Linked DNA regions of Homo sapiens: region 2 is linked to region 1. Evidence: promoter capture Hi-C in 16 types of primary human blood cells and fetal thymus (Javierre and others, 2016). All regions are on one chromosome and are shown on one strand. The core of a region is centred on a gene start or on the middle of the fragment in contact, and the rest is flanking DNA. Distances in the headings are between cores, read along the strand shown.

Region 1 (7,461 bases), core at 3,070-5,569:
AGTTCTTGACAGAAGCCACCCAAATATCCATTATCATCATCATGATTAAATTGTATGATTCATGTGAAATGGAGACAGAGCAGGGATCCCTTTGAGGGGCCTGCCACTCTTCCCAACCAAGCATGGAAATAAAGAAAAATCTTGAGTTCCTTTGAGGGAAATTCCGGGCACCTAGCTAGCCCTGAGGAGTAAGTGAGCAACCTGATAAGCAAGGAGGTAACAATAGCTGAAGACAATAGCCGAGGAAGTTAGAGCCACCAAATGTTTGGTTCCCCATAGAAACTAAAGACAACATCTTAATATATATCCCTGAGTTGTTTTCAAAAAACCTGGACTCCCACCAAATGGAAAATGACATCTGCTGGCACATAGACCTTAGATAACAGAGGAACTGGGGACTGAACTCTGACTGCCATTTTTTGTTCTGAATTTCTTCCTGAGTGGCCTGGAGGAAGTCATGCCTACAGGTCGGAGCTCAGCATTCCTTTCTGTGGACCCCTAGGCTTTAGACAAAGTTTCACTCCCTTAACCAATTCGCAAATCAGAAAATCTTTGAATCTACCCATGACCTGTGCCTCGCCCCACACTTCAAGATATCCCACCTTTTTTGGCCAAACCAATGTAAGACCTCCATGTATTGATTTATGACTTTGCATGTAACTTCTGCCTTCCCACCTTTAAAAACCCTTACACTCAAGCCATTCGGGAGTTTAGGTCCTAGGCGAGAGCTATCCGGTTCTCCTTGCTTGGTGCCCTGTTATAAATGCCTCACTTTTTTCACTGCAAATCCCACTGTCAGTGTTTGGCTTTGCTGTGCCAGGATGGGTGGACCCAAGTTCGGTTTGGTAACAATAAAATGCAATACACTAGTTAAATGGATGTAGCTACATCTGTTGGCATTATCAAATTGCAAAAACATAATGTTCAGTGAAAAAAGCTTGTTAGAGACTGATGTAATCAACAAAAGTTCAATACTTTGCTATATATAGTTTATGGAGCCATTCATCTGTAGCATTAATGTAGCGTCATTCTGGGGATGAAAAACATCAGTTTAAGGACAGGGTGGGAAGCATGGAGAGGCTTCCATGATCCTTGTGTGTGTTGTTTCTTAAGGAAAAAGAGCTGATGAAAATCTGCCAAAATGTTACAGTTTTGTGTGTGAGAATATAGGCGTTCATTATGTTGTTTTTATGCTTTTCTGGATATTTGCAGTCAACCATAATTTCAGAATATCAGTGATGGTGGCGCTTCCCATTTTGTACCATCAATCTGTCTAAGATTCACAGAATTACCTCACATTTCCCTTTAAATATGAATCTTCGTTCTCACAGTTGGAGGCTTAATGTTTCCAAAGGTATAAATGTGGTTTTTTGTTTTTGTTTTTTTGAGACGGAGTCTCGCTCTGTCACCAGGCTAAAATGCAGTGGCGCGATCTCAACTGACTGACTCTGAACTCGGGGTTCAAGAGATTCTCCTGCCTCAGCCTCCCAAGTAGCTGGGACTACAGTCATGCGCCACCATGCCCAGCTAATTTTTTTATTTTTAGTAGAGACGGGGTTTCGCCATGTTGGCCAGGATGGTCTAGATCTCTTGACCTCATGATCCTCCTGCCTCAGCCTCCCAAAGTGCTGGGATTACAGGCGTGAGCCACCATGCCCGGACAAATATGTGTTTTTGTAGGTGGAAACTTCTCTCAAATTAAAACATCCTCTATACCAGAAACCTGGGGAAAAAACATCATTAGTTGGCCTGACAGGAAATCAGGCAGTTTTGTTTTTTTTAAACAAAAAAAAAAAACATTAAAGTCCTAATGTGGAGGCAGAGAAAAACCCATGCTGCTCACTGTCTGTGGCCTGATGCCTCCATCTCTTTCTGCGGGACCTTTGTCCCAGGTCTCCCTCTCCTGACCTAGATGAATGAATGAAATGAACTAATGTGTACACAGACTCTGTGTACATATGGCTTTGATTTGGGAGAAAAGATGAATCACTCTGAGCTGGTAATCTGATCTTTGCCCTTCTGCTAGTAAACAGTTGAAAGATAACTCAATACATTCTCCGTCTGCCTTTTAAAACCAGAATAGCAAATAAAGGCCCTAGAGGGGCCTGGTTTGGATGGGGGAAGCCATTTATCACCTTCAGGGAAAAGAGAATGTAAATAGGTCCACATTTATTCTCCGGTCCTCCCGTGGCCACGACAGCCTTAGAAATACTCACCTTGTTTCAGTTAGCAGGCCAAGGGTCAGCGGTCAACAGAGCTGCTCCAGCAAGCTCTGTGTGGTGCCTCAAACAGGCCACACAAAGAGATGCTGTTTAAAATCGGAATTCCTTTCACCCTGAGTAAGTTTCCAAAGCAAAGGGGTCACCCGGTGAGTGTTGGTGCAGTCCTCACTGTTTGTCCTGCCTCTTGCTACAGAGGACATCTGGCAAAAGCAGATCAGAAAATGAAAGAAGTCTGTCCCAGTTCTGCCCTCCCCAGGTGGTAGAATTTCTCATGCGATTGTTGCTTGGGGTGTGTCACTCTGTACTTGAGTAGGTGGAGGGTGAACAGACTGATCAGCTGGCTATGAGATGAGAGCAGGATGATGATCATTCACTGGGATGTGTCTGGCCAACTGGGAAGAGTCAGGTAGCTCAAGGCCTGGAGATTCTCATCAGGGAGAGCACAATGGGGCCAGGCCTATAGCTGAGGTCCAGGCACAGAGGCTGGGCTATGAGAACCAGTGTCCTCAGTGACTGCGACAATGACATGTCCTCTGTCACCACCTGCTACCGTGAGGCCCCAGCCCCGGCTGACCTGTAGACTCAGATCTGGGCCTGAGAGGGAGGCTTGACTTCAGCCCCTCTCATGAACAGAATCCACAGCACCAGGGCTGAGAGTGGTGGCAGGGCCCAGGAACAGTGATATCCAGTAGAATAAGTGTGACCCACCCCAGCCCCCCACAAACCAGAGGGAGTGCTGAGCACCTCCGCCCAGCCTCAGGCAGCTGACTTCACTAAAGGAGGCCAAAAGGAAAGAAAAATGTGACAAGTGTGTTTTGATGGCTGATGCGCAGGCTCCCAGAGAACCTTCAGAAATCAGGTGGGAGTTGGAAAGATTTTTGAATTGTCCTCCTGCAATAGCATGTTGAAGAAAAACTAGCTAAATATACTTTATGTGTAATTCCATGTCCATATGCATGATTTCTTAGGTGGCAACCAAAGGCAAGGAGTTCCTGTGCAAATGGTATTGCCAATATTAAGGTTCTCAATACAGTATATATTTTGTTGTATTCATTTGCTAGGGCTGCCAGAACAAAGTTCCACAAATTGGTTGCCTTAAACAACAAAAATGCATTGTCTCACAATTTCTGGAGGACAGAAGTCTAAGATCAAGGTGTTGGCAGTGTTGTTCCTTCTAAAGGCTGAAGGAGAATCTGTTGCAGGCCTCTCTCCTTGGCTTGAGGACAACCATCTTCTCTCTGTGTCTCTTCCCATCATCTTCCCTCCAGGCATGTCTGGGTCCAAATTTCCCCTTTTTATTATTTTTTATGTATTTATTAATTTTTTTTTTGAGATGGAGTTTCACTCTTGTTGCCCAGCCTGGAGTGCAATGGCGCAATCTCGGCTCACTGCAACCTCTGCCTCCCGGGTTCAAGCGATTCTGCTGCCTTAGCCTCCCAAGTAGCTGGGATTACAGGTGCCTGCCACCATGCCCAGCTATTTTTTTTTCTTGTATTTTTAGTAGAGATAGGGTTTCTCCATGTTGGCCAGACTGGTCTTGAACTCCTGACCTCAGGTGATCCACCCACCTCGGCCTCCCAAAGTGCTGGGATTACAGGCATGAGCCACCATGCCCAGCCAAATCTCCTCTTCTTTATAAGGACACCGGTCATATTGGATGAGTCATATTGGATTACATGCCCACTCTACTCTAGTATAACCTCATTTTAATTTGATCACATTTTCAAAAACCCTGTTTCCAAATGCAGTTGCATTCTGAGGTACTAGGGGTTAGGACTTGGACATAGACATTTTGGGGGACACAATTCAACCCTTATTTGCCAAATCACTTTTTAGAATGATTAAGGCAATTAATGATCTTCTTAAAGTGAAGAAACAACCCACAGAATGGGAGAAAATATTTGCAAACTACCCATCTGACAAGGAATTAATAACCAGAATATATAAGGAGCTCAAACAACTCAACAGGAAAACATCTAGTAATCCAATCAGAAATCAAAATCTAGTAATCCAAATAAAAAATCAGAAATGAATAGATATTTCTCAAAAGAAGACTTACAAATGGCAAACAGGCATATGAAAAGGTGGTCATCGTCACTGATCATCAGAGAAATGCAAATCAAAACTACAATGAGATATCTCACCCCAGTTAAAATGGCTTTTATCCAAAAGACAGGCAATAACAAATGCTGGTGAGGATGTGGAGAAAAGGGAACACTAGTATATTGTTAGTGGGAATGTAAATTAGTACAACCACTATGGAGAACAGTTGGGAGGTTCCTCAAAAAACTAAAAATAGAACTAGCATATGATCCAGCAATCCCAGTGCTGGGTCTATACCCAAAAGGAAGGAAATCAGTATATTGAAGAGATATCTGCACTCCCATGTTTGTTGCAGCACTGTTCACAATAGCTAAGACTTAGAAGCAAATTTACAGTCCATCAACAGATGAACAGATAAAGAAAATGTGGTACATATACACAATGGAGTACTATTCAGCCATAAAAAGAATGAGATCCTGTCATTTGCAACAACATGGATGGAACGAAACTGGAGGACATTATGTTAAGTGAAATAAGCCAGGCACAGAAAGACAAACATCACATGTTCTCACTTATTTGTGGGATCTAAAAATCGAAACCATTGAAATCATGGACATAGAGAATAGGAAGGATGATTACCAGAGGCTGAAAAGGATAGTAGAGGACTGGGGAGATAAGGTGGGAATGGTTCATGGGTACCAAAAAAAAAAATAGAAGAATGAATAATACCTACTATTTGATAGCACGACAGGGAGACTATAGTCAATAATAATTTAAGTGTACATTTTAAAATAATTAAAAGTATAATTGGATTGTTTATACCACAAAGAATAAATGCTTGAGGGTATGGATACCCCATTCTTCATGATGTGCCTATTTCACATTGCATGCCTGTATTAAAACATCCCACGTACCCCATAAATATATACCCCTACTGTGTACCCACAAAAATTAAAAATAAAAAATTTTTTAATCTTGTCAACAGTGTATTAGGACATTGTGTTGTTGCAATTTCCTTAGCATCAAGTTCCGTCTTTAAAAAAAAAAAAAAAAAGCTTACTGATAGGTTTTTAGAGCCTGGTAATTCATTCTTTTTTGTTTTTTGTTTTTGCTCCGTTGCCCAGCCTGGAGTGCAGTGGCACAATCTGGGCTCACTGCAACCTCCGCCCCCTGGGTTCAAGCAATTCTTCTGCCTCAGCCTCCCAAGTAGCTGGGATTTTAGGTGCCAGCCACCACACCCGGCTAATTTTTGTATTTTTAGTAGAGATGAGGTTTTGCCATGTTGGCCAGGCTGGTCTCAAACTCCTGACCTCAGGGGATCCACCCGCTTCAGCCTCCCAAAGTGCTGGGATTACAGGCATGAGCCACTGTGCCCGGTCGGTAATTCATTCTTAAGTAAACTGGCCATATATGAATTGGCCATTTGAGTTCTTTCACAAAATATAAGACTATTTCCCCCCTTACAGTAGCTATTGTTGAATAAGATGCCAAGAAGGACAGCCAGCAATAGAGAATCAGTGCACAGATGCACTGGCAGGATTACCGGGTACATCTCCACCTCACTAACACCTTCTAGAGGTCACCATGAGCGTGGTGGGAAGCAATTTAGAATCAGAAGCACAGGGGTTCAAATCCCAGCTCTGGGACTTTCTAAATGTGCTCTTTTTCCAACTTTTTGAAGCCTGTATTATCTTATACGAAAAATCTTATCCTCTTCACCCAACTTTTCAAGGATTAAAAAATCCTCACATGGCATATTGCTGCACCACACTCTGTGGTGCATTATGGATGTCCAGTAAGGTGCATGGACCCTAAAGCTGCTCTGAGGACCAGATTCTCCCCATGGAGTAAACAGGCCACAGGTTGTTAAGGGAACCAGATGCTCGTGAACAACAGACCATTCATATGGATTAGCGAGTTTCTGCAAGGAAGAAGAGGGCTTGATCATCTCATTATTTGTTTCATGTGTCAGAATTGAATCACAGTGGAGCATTCATTGACCTAAAATTAAATTACTTGTCATATTTTTTATTCAACCATTTCCTCCTTTCCTTGGTAAATATAATTTTTTCTCATTCTAATGAAGCTCCTTGGAAACATCAAATCACTGCTTTATTTTAATCAGAGTAATTAACCAGTGATGGATGAGGCACAGGTAGCACGTGGATTTGGTGGGGGAATCTTCAGTAAGCAAAGGGTGGTGCCAGGGTGGCTTTACATTGGTCCCTGGAAGAGTGGTGAAGTTGTGCCCACACCCCGAAATGTGTAAGATCAGCTGTGACCCCTGGTGGAGCAAGAAAGCAAGGCTGTGAAAAATATAAATTGTCTTATCATTTTCTTAGAAACAAAAGACAACTCTAACTCAATAATTACCTTCTGTGTATCTATTCTCTTAGAAGTCAAGGAAAACCCTATCTATAGAATTTATCTCATCATCAGTTTATCCTCATAAAATAGATTCTTTCAAATCAGCCCCACTTCCAATTTTGAAATGGATCTTACCCCTATTCAGATAAAGTCTGAGTTCATTGTGCACCTTCACCTTTCTGTATGTAGGTCTTGGTCACACCAATGGACGCGCCAGGCCCAGGCTGTGGGTGCTTCCTGGGCTCTCTGTCTGTCACTTCTCCTGAGCCCTAGAGGAACACTGCACCCAGCTGCAGCTTTTCATATACCCCTGCACCCCCAGGGCACGGCCCAGAGGGAAACTTGACTCTTTGGCTGCTTCAGTGTATCTGGCCTAAGACCAGAGCTCCTGCTTTGGCGATCAGTCATCTACACACCAAGGTCCCTGAGATCTTGCCATTTTTCTAGAGTACTCCCCAGAGAGCAGGACTCAGAGGCCCAACCTCAGGAGACACTTCTGTCTATGCCTGTCTCTCTCTGTTCTGTCTCTCTTTCTATTTCTGTGTCTGTCTTCCTCTGTCTGTCTCTGTCCCTCCTGTCTTTGTCTCTCTGTCTCTCTATCTCTGTCTCTGTCTCTCTGTCTCTGTCTCTCACACACTCCTCACATCTGTCACTTCCTTCCATAACCCATGGGGTACAGAGGAATATATTTTTCTTTTTCCCTCACAATCCTCCCCACAGGTAGTAAAGATTGTGTGTGTGTGTTTCTGTTTTTCTCATGCCTTCTTAATTACTTGACTGATTTGCTTTGGGAAATCAAAGCCAGCTGGGCTCAGGAGTTTTGTTGTTG
Region 2 (7,461 bases), core at 3,607-6,106, 47 kb after region 1:
GGTTCCTTAAATATCATGCAGTATCTGTCCTTTTGTGCCTGGCTATTTCCTATTTCCTGTAGCAGAATGTCCTCAAAGTTCATCCGTGTCATAGCATGTGACAGAATTCCCTTTCTTTTCAAAGGTGAATAACACTCCATTGTATGCATATACTACATTTTGCTTATCTATTCATCTGCTGGAGGACATTTGGGCTGTTTCTCCTTTGGCTACTGTGGATAATGCTGCCATGAACACAGGTATGCAAGTATCTGCTTGAGTCCCTGATTTCAATTCTTTTGCATGTATATCCAGCATGGACTCACAAGATCATATGGTAATTCTAGTTTTCATATTTTGAGAAGCTTCCATACTGTTTTCCACAGTGGACACACTATTTCATGTTCCCTGCCCCCCAACACAAGGGCTCCAATCTCTCACCACTTCTACGCCTTACTATTAGGACCTTTCGGTGATCACTATGACTGCTGGAATTCGCCATTATGGAGTACTTAACAGTGTACCCAGAACTTCCACATTCTCTCCAACTCCAAAGGTTGAGGGCGATGCTAAGCTCGTAGGAGCTTTGGAATACAATCATAGTAACACTTTCTCAGATTCAAGAAGCCGCATGTGTTCTCTAAACTTCATTCTGAATGGAGGTTGGTCAACAATGCTACATGAAGACAACATGTAATGCTTAATCACAGAGGAAGATGTGCAAATGTAAATGCTGTCATACTTGTCTATATAATAAACAGAAACCATACTCTCATCAGACACATTTCTTTGCTCAGCATATTACCTTCTCCTTCTCCCTCTGGGTTGGAAGTCACTGGCAGGATTTGAAGAGACGAATCCTGAAGAGATGTAAGGTATCTTGGTTAACTGGTGGGTTTTGGAAGCAGTGCAATCCAGCCCTGTGCCCCTAGGTGAGGCACCTTTTCCCTCAGAGATGGTTCGTCATGTGTAAATTGCGGCTGGTGACAGGATTTAATAGTCACAATAGTCGTCACTTACCAGGTGCTCCCTGGGTTTCAGGCACTTATTTTTAAAATTGAGAAAATTCACGTGTAATAAAATTTACCATTGTAAAGTGTACAATTCAGTGGCTTTTTAAAGCGTGTTTATAAACCATCATCATGATTTAATTCCAGAACATTTTCATCACCCTAGAAGAAACCCTGTACCCATTAGCAGTAATCCTGCACCCAATTCATCACCTACCCCCACCTCCTGGCAATGACAAATTAACCTACTTTCTGTCATTATGAATTTTCTTATTCTGGACACTTAATATAAATTGAATCATATTAAACATGGTCTTTTGGATCTGGCTTCATTCACCTAACATAAAGTTCTCAAGGTTTACCCACCTTGCAGCACGTGTCAATACTCCATTCCTCTTTACGGCTGAATAATATTTTATTGCACCTATATGCCACATTTTGTTGATCCAGTCATCTGCTGATGGACATGTGAGCTGTTTCCACCTTTTGGCTATTATGAATAATGCTACTAAAAACTCTCATATGCAAATTATTGTGTAAACATTTTGTTTGTTTGGTTTTTGTTTTTTGGTTTTTTGAGGCAGAGTCTTGCTCTGTCACCCAGGCTGGAGTGCAGTGGCGTGATCTCGGCTCACCACAAGCTCCACCTCCCGGGTTCACACCATTCTCCTGCCTCAGCCTCCTGAGTAGCTGGGACTACAGGCGCTCGCCACCACGCCCGGCTAATTTTTTTGTATTTTTAGTAGAGACGGGGTTTCACCTTGTTAGCCAGGATGGTCTCGATCTCCTGACCCCGTGATCCGCCCGCCTCAGCCTCCCAAAGTGCTGGGATTACAGGCATGAGCCACCACGCCCGGTCTGTGTGAACATGTTTTTAATTCACTTGGGTATATAACCTAGGGGCAGAGTTGTTAGGCTGTAGGGTAATTATATGCTTAACTTCCAGACTGTTTCCACAGTGGTTATACAATTTTACATTCCCACCAGCCTTGTAGGAGTGCTCCAATTTCTCTTCTTCCTCACTGACACTTATTGTTGTCTGTCATTCTGATTACAGCCATCCTGTGAATGTGAAATGGTATTTCATTGTGGTACTGATTTAATTCTCTTAAAGACTAGGGATGTTGAGTATCTTTTCGTGTGTTTAGTGGCCATTTGTGTATCTTATTTGGAGGCATGTCTATTCAGTTTGTATATTTTTAATTAGGTTATTCGTCCTTTTATTGTTGAGTTGTATGAGTTCTTTTTATATTCTGAATACTGAAATTATCTATTATTCTTTGGTTGTTTGTGCTTTTGGTGTCATATCTGAGAAACCACTGTTAAATCCAAGGTCAGGAAGATTCAGTCCTATGTTTTGTTGTAAGAGATTTATAGCTTTAGCTCTTACGTGTAGGTCATTGATCCATTTTTGAGTAGATTTTTGTATATGGTGTGAGGTTTGAGTCTAGCTTCACTGTTTTGCATGTGGATTTCAGTTGTCCTAGAGCCATTTGTTGAGAAAAAAAGAGTTGTCTTTGTGCTCTAATTTAAAATCAACTTCCCATAGATATACAGATTTATTTCTGGCCCAGACACTGTTCTAATTGCTTTTGCCTTGTAGAGTAATTGTGATGATTAAATAAAGGGAGAGAAAATATTTTGCCCACTTCAATACTTATCCCCTACACATATGACAAACTGTGAATAGTTGCAAGGATTTTTTTCACTTTTACAAAGCTTGATATTTGTTTTGTTTTGTTTTGTTTTTGTTTTTTAATATGGAGTCTCGCCCTGTCGCCCAGGCTGGAGTGCAATGGAGCAATCTCCTCTCACTGCAATCTCCGCCTCTTGGGTTCAAGCGATTCTCCTGCCTCAGCCTCCCGAGTAGCTGGGATTACAGGTGCACGCCACCATGCCTGGCTAATTTTTGGTATCTTTAGTAGAGACCGGGTCTCACCATGTTAACCAGGCTGGTCTCAAACTCCTGACATCATGATCCACCTGCCTCAGCCTCCCAAAGTGCTGGGATTACAGGCATGAGCCACTGCACCAAACCCCGATATTTCTTACTTTCTATTTTAATTCGGAATAATATTTGGCATTCTTCCAGGATGGATTTTAATGGCTTATGTATTAGGAATCATCAATAGACAATAAATTTATTTATTAAGTGCTATTAGGTCATTAGGTTAAAAAAATAAATAGGGCCAGGAGCGGTGGCTCACGTCTGTAATCCCAGCACTTTGGGAGGCCGAGGCAGGCAGATCATCTGAGGTCAGGAGTTCAAGACCAGCCTGGCCAACATGGCGAAACCCCGGCTCTACTAAAAATACAAAAATTAGCCGGACTTCGTGTCAGGTGCCTGTAATCCCAGTTACTTATGAGGCTGAGGCAGGAGAATCGTTTGAACTCGGGAGGCAGAGGTTGCAGTGAGCCCAGATCGCACCATTGCACTCCAGCAAGAGAGAAACTCCATCTCAAAAAAATAAATAAATAAAAATTTAAAAATATATAAATAAATAGACCTTTAACAAGTTAAATGTAAATAATTTAGTCCAACTAAATTATTAATGGATAAAGATCCCATCAAAAAAGAGACGCTTTACTTTTTCCACACAGAGTAATGATTGGAATTCTCTCCCCTTTTTCGGGTTAGACATCTGAGACATGAAAATTAAAGGACAGGCCTAGATCCAGCTGGAGAGCCGGGCACCAAGTCAGAGCCCTTTGCACCAAGTCCAGGGTCCTTGTGTTTCATGCATGCAAGCCCTGCCTTCTTGTTTACAGATGGGAAGCCCAGCGAGTCCTTCTTTAGCAGGGGTGACAATGTTGTACATTAATCTGTAACACCAGGGACATTAGGCCCCCATGTATGATTGTTAGGCAGAGACAAAATAGGTGGGGTCTCCCTAACAGAGCATGCTGAGGAAAGGACTTAGGCATGGGATGAGAGGAGGTGCCAATGGTTTCTTAGTTGAACATATGATCAAGCACTTTCCAGAAGTATATGTTGACATGTAACCTGCCCTGCCCCACGCAGGGCCTTCATGGGTCAAAATGGCTACCCGCGGGTCACAACCAATGACCTCTGGTTACTTCACAATTGTCATGTGCCTACTTGGGTTGGGGTGGGGGTGTCGCACTGTGGTGGTCCACAAAAAATGAATGGAAAAGATTAGGCCTTTCTGTAGCAAAGGAAGCTTACTTTAAGTAAAGACTGAGATTGCATCTGCTGTGATCATATTGGATGTTGGTCTGCATGGCTGGAAGGAAAGAAACCTGAAAGAGAAACTATGCAAATGACAACCATCCAAGACCACAGCATCTCCCCCACAGTCAATCCTTGTGTTCAAAGGACAGTTGTGTTTTCAGCACCCAATGGAACTTCCTCAAATTGCCGAGAAAGTTTTGATGGTTATTGCTGCTGTTTTATGAGGATTTATTCAATATTTCCTACATGTGATACTTACTAATTATATATTCAATATCTCCTACAAACCATACTTACGAATTATTTCTAATTCTTGCAAGAACTCTAGAGTTTAGGTATTATTTCTCATTTTACAGTTGAGAGAACTGAGACTCAGAGAAGGCGTGCCAGTGTCACTGAGATTTTAGGAGATAGGACAGAAACAGAACCTGTCTATCAAAGCACAGATGTTTTCACCCTCCGTACTGTGGGTGCTTACCTCATATTTTGACTAAAATGTTTTATTTGGTTTATTTAGCTTCTGAAATTTGTATTCCTCACACCTGTCTTTATGTGCCTGGGGGGGAAATCTTAAGCATTGGAACCAACATCCCAGTGATCAGAGAGCAGAAAGAATTCATGGCTTCCTCCCCAGTGGCCCAGGTAGGGCTGACCCGGAACTCTGCTCAGAGCATGGATGTCTCAGTTGCTCTGTGTGCAGCTGCCTTGTGTGGAGTGAGCTGATCAGGAGGAATTTCTTCAGGGGAATATAAAACTCTTTGCAATCAGGATTTTCAGGGCTAGCTTCAGGCTCCTGACTTCTGAGTAACTAGGTCAAGGCTATTTCAAAATTAGCAGAATGGTACTCATCTTCACTATTGGTATCTAACACTGACCTAGAAATAGCAAGTGATTCAGTACGATAAGAAGATGAAAGAAAAATACTGGAAGTGAGGGGGTAAACTATTAGTTTATTACTTCCAGATAAACTAATTAAAATTATTACAAACTAATTATTTAAAACTAATTTAAAATATCTACACAAAATCTTAAGAGATGCTGGGCGCAGTGGCTCACGCCTGTAATCCCCGCATTTTGGGAGGCCTAGGCAGGTGGATCACGAGGTCAGGAGATTGAGACCATCCTGGCTAACACAGTAAAACCCTGTCTCTACTAAAAATACAAAAAAATTAGCCAAGCGTGGTGGCGGGCGCTTGTAGTCTCAGCTACTCGGGAGGCTGAGGCAGGAGCACGGCGTGAAACCGGGAGGTAGAGCTTGCAATGACCTGAGATCATGTCACTACACTCCAGCCTGGGCAACAGAGCGAGACTCCATCTCAAAAAAAAAAAAAAAAATCAAGAGAATCAAGTAAAGCTTAATTGATGAAATAAGAGAATTCAGAGTGTGGTCGGTTATAATATAAATATTTAGAAATCAAAAGCTTTTTCAATATTAGCAAGAGAATATCATTTTTAATAAGTATTCTACTCACAACAGCAAAAAAAATCTGAAATATCTAGGATTAAATTTAAGATTTACAGAAGGCTATAAAGAGAATAACTTGATGAATAGAGTGATATCATAATTCAGGATTCAAAGCTCAGTACCACAAAAGAGGCCAGGTAGTAAATATTTTTCAGCTTTAGGAGCCACATGGCCTCTGTTCCAGCTGCTCGATTCTGCTGTGATTGTGTGAAAACAAAACATAAACGAGCCACCAAACGTGGCTGTGTTTTAATAAAACTTTATTCACTAAAACAGCCGGAAGGCCAGTTTGGCCTGTGGGACATAGTTTGCCAACCCCTACTACAGGTGATTGTCTTCTTCCTCAAGCATAAAATACTACAAGGAGAATTATGCTGCTTCTAAAGTGTTCCCTCTTTTGAAATATTTCCTTAGGATAGACTCTTAGAATTTTGATTCCTGGCCAGGCGCGGTGCCTCACGCCTGTAATCTCAGCACTTTGGGAGGCCGAGGAGGGCGGATCACAAGGTCAGGAGATCGAGATCATCCTGGCTAACACGGTGAAACTCTGTCTCTACTAAAAATACAAAAAAAAAAAATTAGCCAAGCGTGGTAGCGGGTGCCTGTAGTCCCAGCTACTCAGGAGGCTGAGGCAGGAGAATGACATGAACCCAGGAGGCGGAGCTTGCAGTGAGCTGAGATCCCGCCACTGCACTCCAGCTTGGGTGACAGAGCGAGACTCCGTCTCAAAAAAAAAAAAAAGAATTTTGATTCCTGGGCCAGGGAAAATAAAATATAGTTTGGGACAGATATTGCCACATGCATTCTAAAATGCCTCCTACAAATTGCAGTGTGAGCAACTCATGAGGATAACTACTTCACACTACCACCAGTATTAGATGAGTTATTTTAAGATTGTTAAATTAATCTTTTTAAGTGTTTCAAATAGAACTTCTGTGATCGCTGTTGACGGGGAAATTTTTTCTTTCTTTTTGGATTTTTTGGAATTATCAGGTTACCTACTTTGTACCCGTACCCCTTGAAGTTGAAGTGGAAGCGTTTTTAAAATAAAACGTCCCATGGGCTATTGACAATATACGATGTATCATCTACTTTGGGGCTCCTAAACCTCAAATATTTTAGTTCTTGTGCATTTAAAGATGACCTTTTTATGTTTACTTTAAGGAATTTCCTTTGAAGGTTTTAATTTAGCCAAGATAGTTTGCAGTCAAGCTGCTATGAAGTGTAGGGACATAATTGAAGTCAGGGTTTCCCAAGCAATGTCTCCTGGCAATTTTCAAGGCACTTTATAGATATTTTAGAATACAGCTCTTTCCAGCCCTTCTCACATTCTTTCCTTAGTCCTCCATTTGGAAGGTCCTGCTCCCAGGAGAGGTCAACTTGAAGCGCCGAGAAGCAGCAGAGAGCGCGGGGGGCTGAGTATGCGCGCAGTGCTTGTCGCCTAATGCGTTTATGGCTTTTATGCTTATGAAGACAACTGTGATGCCTCAAGCTCAATTTTCAATGTAATTACCTGCATGTGATATTGACGTGAATCCCTAGGTGATAGGTTACAGATATTCCTATTTCATTTCTGACTTGTTGGTGTCAAATGAATGGACCCGTGAACGGGACTGTCATGGGAAAAAGTGACTCAAAGATAGTATTTAGCTGCCCCAAATAGCTCACTTAAAAAAAAAAAAACGCAAGCAGATTTTAAAATTTTAGGACTATTGCAGTGAAATCTTACCTGTTAAGAGCCCATGGAAAGATCACCTTCCTGAAGAGCTGATGGACTGCTGTTGTAAATGTCAGGTCGGGGTGGGGGTGGGGGT

Evidence for each region. The method cuts DNA at HindIII sites, captures the fragments that hold promoters and counts their contacts. A CHiCAGO score of 5 or more calls a contact.
Region 2: a contact is called between a fragment that was not itself captured here and the fragment with the promoter of LINC00525 in region 1, in 2 of 17 cell types (total B cells and naive B cells). The highest score is 6.5, in total B cells.

What each region holds. Positions count from the first base shown.
Region 1 is chr7:47,758,334-47,765,794 of GRCh38, reverse strand. LINC00525 (long intergenic non-protein coding RNA 525) reads right to left here and starts at 4,319. Exons shown (of 3, transcript NR_038407.1): 1 at 4,282-4,319; 2 at 2,217-2,422. The HindIII fragment of the contact is 4,383 bases long and covers 940-5,322 here.
Region 2 is chr7:47,712,241-47,719,701 of GRCh38, reverse strand. No RefSeq gene overlaps it. Among named protein-coding and RNA genes, the nearest start is that of LINC00525, 46 kb to the left of the region's middle. RefSeq lists enhancers at 3,577-3,871, 4,424-4,503 and a silencer at 3,577-3,871. The HindIII fragment of the contact is 1,365 bases long and covers 4,174-5,538 here.